Regions from separate parts of the Homo sapiens genome. Here region 2 is linked to region 1. Evidence: promoter capture Hi-C in 16 types of primary human blood cells and fetal thymus (Javierre and others, 2016). All regions are on one chromosome and are shown on one strand. The core of a region is centred on a gene start or on the middle of the fragment in contact, and the rest is flanking DNA. Distances in the headings are between cores, read along the strand shown.

What was found. Contacts are between HindIII fragments. The CHiCAGO score rates a contact against its expected background, and 5 or more counts as called.
Region 2: a fragment that was not itself captured here is called in contact with the fragment with the promoter of SLC27A2 in region 1 in 1 of 17 cell types (total CD8 T cells); the score reaches 6.8 in total CD8 T cells.

The regions. Positions count from the first base shown.
Region 1 is chr15:50,180,621-50,183,747 of GRCh38, forward strand. It overlaps SLC27A2 (solute carrier family 27 member 2), which reads left to right and starts at 1,576. Exons shown (of 10, transcript NM_003645.4): 1 at 1,576-2,285. The coding sequence starts at 1,808. It also overlaps a transcript of ATP8B4 not described here. RefSeq lists silencers at 1,468-1,807, 2,078-2,177. The HindIII fragment of the contact is 4,085 bases long and covers 910-3,127 here.
Region 2 is chr15:48,828,850-48,831,976 of GRCh38, forward strand. The region is part of intron 11 of SHC4 (SHC adaptor protein 4); the gene reads right to left. Among named protein-coding and RNA genes, the nearest start is that of CEP152, 19 kb to the left of the region's middle. The HindIII fragment of the contact is 182 bases long and covers 1,620-1,801 here.

The DNA of each region.
Region 1 (3,127 bases), core at 326-2,825:
ATTGGGATGAAAAAGGAAGGGCTGGCTCTGAGCTTCACCATGAAAGAAGTGCACATGAGAATGGTTTCTGTCGGGCCCTCACTTTGGTTAATTCTACTGCTTTCTCCTCAGGGATGATGAAGGCCCCCAGCTCATCCCCAGGGAAATGATGCAACCAGGTAGCTGGATCAGAAATGAAAAAGTCAGGAAAAGGGAAAGGTTGCTTGCGCAGTTACTAGGGATACGAAAAGGAGGCTAAAAAACGGCAGGGGGTGGCCTGGAGGGAATGTGAAACATTTTTGTGTGTTTTACACACACCGAAAAAAAAAGAGGACATGGACAGAAACCTAGAGAATAGGAGGACAGCATAGTATAGTTACTAAGAATAAGCTAAGAGTTGGTTCCCCGGGACCAAACAGATACCATTTCCAAAACCCACGAATTACTTACCGGCTGTCTCAATTCACCTAAGCTTCCCTTTCTTGTCTGTAAATGAGCATGAAAGTGCCACCTGTATAAAATAACTCAGGCTCCCAAAATGTAACATAGGGAAGCTCCTAGCAGCGTGTCTGGGAGGAATAAGCATTATCTGTATTTATCGTATCAAATTAAGATAGAGGAACACAGGAGGACAGTAGAGGATGAAAATAAAACACTACTTAGATCCTGACCCTCCTCAGTGGCAAGTAGTGAGCATTCACTTCGTACAGAAGTAGCACTAAGGCAAATTAAAAGAAAGGTTCACATTTCCTCTAAAAGAAATGGTTTTTGAGTCATGCCAATACCACTTACTCAATGTCCTCTGTACTATACTATTCTCTGACAGAGCCACTTATTAAATGTGTGAACTGTGCTGACAACACTTGACAACTTTCAACATGAGGGAACAGCAGGATCACTTAACAGAACAAAATCGTAAAATAATGTCAAAGCTTGATTTCAGGTGGTGCGGTGTAGCACTGCTCTTCACGAAATCAGGACTCCCCCGACCAGGCAGGGCCGACTAGGTTAGAGTGTCCTGCCCTCACTCACCTGGCAGGGCTTGGGATGAGCTGGACGTGACTGCCACAGGCATTTCTGTTCAACCTTGAAGCCTTCGCTACAGGAGACCGCCTGGCAGTCGGGCTGGGAAGCAAATCTGAGAAACAAAGAGAGACCAGGCGGAAAGCCCTTGGGACCAGGAAGGAGAGATGAGATTCTGGTTTGGCAGTGGCACCTGGTACCCGCTATTAATAAATAATAGGACTGTCTGACATTTATAAGGCACTTTATCGGTAATAACAGTGTCATCTCCATAAGCCATTCTATTAGTGGTAACAAATAATAGCCCCACGCCTGCAATATCTCCTTTAATATTCCCAACGTCCGCTAAGCGCGTCTCATCACCATTTAAAGAAACCGTGGCTCCTAGAGGTAAAGTACTTCGGTCACAACGCGAGGAGGTCCAGACTTGACCCCAGACCTCCAGACTCGAGCTGGGAAGTGGCCGAGGCTCCTGGTGAGCCGCAGGGCAGCCTGCCCAGCCCCGGGAGGACCGCGTGGGAGGGCCGGGAGAGCAGGTGGCTGCCCCCCACAAGGGGGCGGGCTCAGCCGGCCAGTCCTGCCCGGAACCCCCGGCAACGCGCATACGACTACACCTGCTCCGGAGCCCGCGGCGGTACCTGCAGCGGAGGAGCTCTGTCTTCCCCTTCATCTCACGCGAGCCCGGCGTCCCGCCGCGTGCGCCCCGGCGCAGCCCGCCAGTCCGCCCGGAGCCCGCCCAGTCGCCGCGCTGCACGCCCGGGGTGAACCCTCTGCCCTCGCTGGGACAGAGGGCCCCGCAGCCGTCATGCTTTCCGCCATCTACACAGTCCTGGCGGGACTGCTGTTCCTGCCGCTCCTGGTGAACCTCTGCTGCCCATACTTCTTCCAGGACATAGGCTACTTCTTGAAGGTGGCCGCCGTGGGCCGGAGGGTGCGCAGCTACGGGAAGCGGCGGCCGGCGCGCACCATCCTGCGGGCGTTCCTGGAGAAAGCGCGCCAGACGCCACACAAGCCTTTTCTGCTCTTCCGCGACGAGACTCTCACCTACGCGCAGGTGGACCGGCGCAGCAATCAAGTGGCCCGGGCGCTGCACGACCACCTCGGCCTGCGCCAGGGAGACTGCGTGGCGCTCCTTATGGGTAACGAGCCGGCCTACGTGTGGCTGTGGCTGGGGCTGGTGAAGCTGGGCTGTGCCATGGCGTGCCTCAATTACAACATCCGCGCGAAGTCCCTGCTGCACTGCTTCCAGTGCTGCGGGGCGAAGGTGCTGCTGGTGTCGCCAGGTGAGCCCCGAGGATCGCCCTGCCCTGGCACCAGGGCTTCTCGGCGCCTTGACTGACGAGCCACAGCGTGGCATAAGGGGTTCGCAGAGGGAGGTTCAGATCGGAACTGTAGGTATAGAAAAAGGTTGGCAGTGTTTCCTTGAATCGCAAATAATGATCTTTTAGGACCACCTGTTGTGGAAGCTGATAATGTGCTAGGTTCTGTGTTAAGCACTCTACAGGCAGTGTGGTTTTTAATCCTCACAATGGGTAGGCTTTGTTATAGGACTTTTATAGATGAGACCACTGAGGTCCTGAGAGGTGAAGCCTCATGCCCAGCCATCTATCTCCAAATTCCAAGCTCTTAATCAATACTTATAACATCTGCATTAAAATGCAGAGGATCTTGAGTGCGAACTCTAGTGGATCCAGAGGGGCTCTTCTCACCTCTGCTGCTTGACTGGCTGTGTGATCATGGGAAAGTCACTTCTCCTCTCTGTCCCTTGGTTTGCTCCTCTCTAATGAGGCAGGCTTCAATGTTGCTTCCAGCTCTCAACTGCTGTTAGCATCCTGTCCCCTCCCTGCAGAACAAAGGTGACCCCACCTGATCCCCAGGGAGAAGATACTGGGGATCTGCTACAGGACCGTTGTGAGCCCCCACTGCATCTATCACAATAGTGACCCTTTCAGTTCTGTGGTTAGCTCCTGCCACATTTCAGCCAGACTTGAAACAGTAACTTAAGTGATGACAAGGTCAGGAAGTGACAGAGAACCTGTTACTCACAGGGCTGATGGCTTTCCCCTCCCAGAGAGCTTGTCTCTGCACTTGAATAAGGACCAAGGGTTCCTTCTCTCAGTCAGTA
Region 2 (3,127 bases), core at 461-2,960, 1.4 Mb before region 1:
TTTCATTGGTTGCTTTTATTTTTTTGCTATAGAGTTGTAGGCGTTCCTTATATATTTTGGATATTAACTCCTTATCAGATACATTGTTTGTAAATAGTTTCTCTCATTCTGTAGGTTGCCTTTTCACTAAGCTGATTGTTTTCTTTGCTGTGCAGAAGCTTTTTAGTTTAATGTAATGCCACTTCTCTAGTGTCCCTTTTGTTGCCTGTGGAAATACCAGTTTTCCTTCTGCCTCTAGTTTCATTCCACTGATACTTGTTATGATGTCAGCCTCTTAAATTTGTCAAGACTTGTCTTGTTATCTAACATAATCTATTCTGGAGAATGTTTTGTGTGCACTTGAGAAGAATATGTATTCTGTTGCTGTTGGATGGAATGTTCTGTATATGTATGTTAGATCCACTTGGTCCATAGTGTTGTTCAAGTTCTTTTTTTCCTCATTGATCTGTCTGGTGTTCTATCCATTATTGAAAGTGGAGCATTAAAATCCCCTACTATTATTGTTTTGCTGTCTATTTCCCCCTTTAGTTCTGTCAATGTTTGCTTCATATATTTGGGTACCCTGATGTGCATATATATTTATAATTATTATATCTTCCTGAAGAATTGATCCTTTTATCATTATATCATGTCCTTCTTTGTCTCTTTTGATATTTTGACTTAAAGTTTATTTTGTCCGATATAAGTATGGCCACTCCTGCCATTTTTTGGTTATCATTTTCATGGAATATCTTTTTCTAAACTTTCACTTTCAACCTACGTGTGTCCTTAAATCTAAAGTGAGTCCTTGCCAGGCGTGGTGGCTCACGCCTATAATCCCAACACTTTGGGAGGCCAAGCAGGTGGATTACCTGAGGTCAGGAGTTTGAGACCAGACTGGCGGACATGGTGAAACCTCGTCTCCACTAAAAATATATAAATTAGCTGGGCATGGTGGCGCACCCCTGTGGTCCCAGCTACTTGGGAGGCTGAGGCAGAAGAATCACTTGAACCCAGGAGGCGGAGGTTGTAGTGAGCTGAGATTGTGCCACTGCACTCCAGCCTGGGCAATAGAGCGAGACTCCGTCTCAAAAAAATAAATAAATAAAATAAAGTGAGTTTCTTATAGATAGCATGTAGTTGGAGCTTGTTTTTTTTTAATCAATTCAGCCACTCTATGCTTTTTGATTACAGAATTTAATATATTTACATTTAAAGTAGTTAATACTAGAGAAGAACTATTACCATTCTATTGTTTTCTGTCTTAAAGCTTTTTTTGGTCCTGTTTCTCCTTTCTTGCTGTCTTCCTTTGTGTTTCATTAATTTTTCATAGTGAATAGGCTTTAATTCCTTTATCATTTTGTTTTGTGTATCTTCTAGAAGTATTTTCTTTGTGATTACCATGGGGCTCGCATAAAACATAGCTATAACAATCTCTTTTAAACTGATAACACCTTAACTTCAATCACATACAAATACTCTACACTGTTATTTCTCCACACACAATTTTATGTTATTGATGTCACCAATTACATTTTTAAATTTTGTGTATTCATTAACATATTTTATAGTTACATAGTTATTGTTGCATAATAACATTTTGGTTAACAACAGACTGCATATACAATGGTGATCCCATAAGCTTATAATGAAGCTGAAAAATTCCTATTGCCTAATGCAATTGTCCTGAAGAATTGACTAATGAGTTGTTGGAACTGAAACAGGAAGGCATAGCTGAAGAGGAGGCAAAAGGAAAGGAAAGTGCAGGCAAAGAAAAAGAAGAAGAACCCCCCAAAAAATTAACAATAAAGAGTTTAGCAGAAGCTTTTTCAGACCTTAACAAGCTTCTTGAAAAGACTAAAAACATGGATCCCCAACACCAAAAGGTTTTCATTAATAGAAAAGAATGCTCATGTTGCATTATCTGCGTACGAGCAAATCTATGATGAAAAAAGAAACAAAGCAAGCAAACCGCCAAGGTCATATTTCTGAAAATAGTGACACTTTCTCAAGAGACTCAAGCAGGTCCTTTAGGAGATATTCTAGAATAAGGCATTGTTATCATAGGAGATGACAACTCCATGCAAGTTATTGCTCCTTAAAGACTGTGGAACAATATGTGGAGATAGAAGACAGTGATATTGATGATCCTGCCCCTGTCTAGTGCTAGCCTAATGTCTGTGTTTCTGTCTCTATTTTTAACAATAACAAAAAAGTTTAAAAGTAAAAAATAGAAATAAAAAATTTTAAAATAGGAAAAACCATATAGAATAAGGATATAAAGAAAGAAGATATTTTTGTACAGCTCTATAACCTATATTTTAAGCTAAGTGTTATTACAAAAAAGTCAAAAGATTAAAATAATTTAAATGTTTACAAAGTAAAAAAATTACAGTAAACTCAAGTTAATTTATTATTGAAGAAAGAAAATTAAAAAAAATAAACTTAGTGTGGTCTAAGTGCATAGTGTTTATAAAGTGTGCAGTAGTGTGCAGTAATGTCCTAGGTCTTTACATTCGCTCACCACTCACTCGCTGGCTCATCTGGAGCAATTTCCAGTCCTGCAAGCTTCATTCACAGTAAATGTTCTACATAGGTGTACCATTTCAAATCTTTTATATCCTATTTCACTGCACCTTTTCTATGTTTACATACACAAATATTTACCATTGTGTTACAATTGTCTACAGTATTCAGTACACTAACGTGCTGTATAGGTTTGCAACCTACAAGCAATAGGTTATACCATATAGCCTAGGTGTGTAGTAGGCTATACTATCTAGGTTTGTGTACATATATTCAAAAATGTTTGCACAATGAAAAAATCATCTAGCAATGTATTTCTCATAACATTTCCCCATTGTTAAGTGATATATGACTTATTTTTCACATTTTTGTCTTTTAACTTCTATAACCAGAATTAAAAGTTATTTACACACTGCCATTATAATATTACAGTATTCTGTGTTTTTCTATATATTTACCTTTACCAGCAAGCTTTGTACTTTCATATGCTTTCATGTTACTGTTTGGTATCCTTTTGTTTCAACTTGAAGGACTTTAGCATTTCTTGAAAGGCAGATCTAGTGCTAACAAACTCCTCATCTTTTGTTTATCTCAGAAAGTCTATATTTCTCTTTCATTTTTA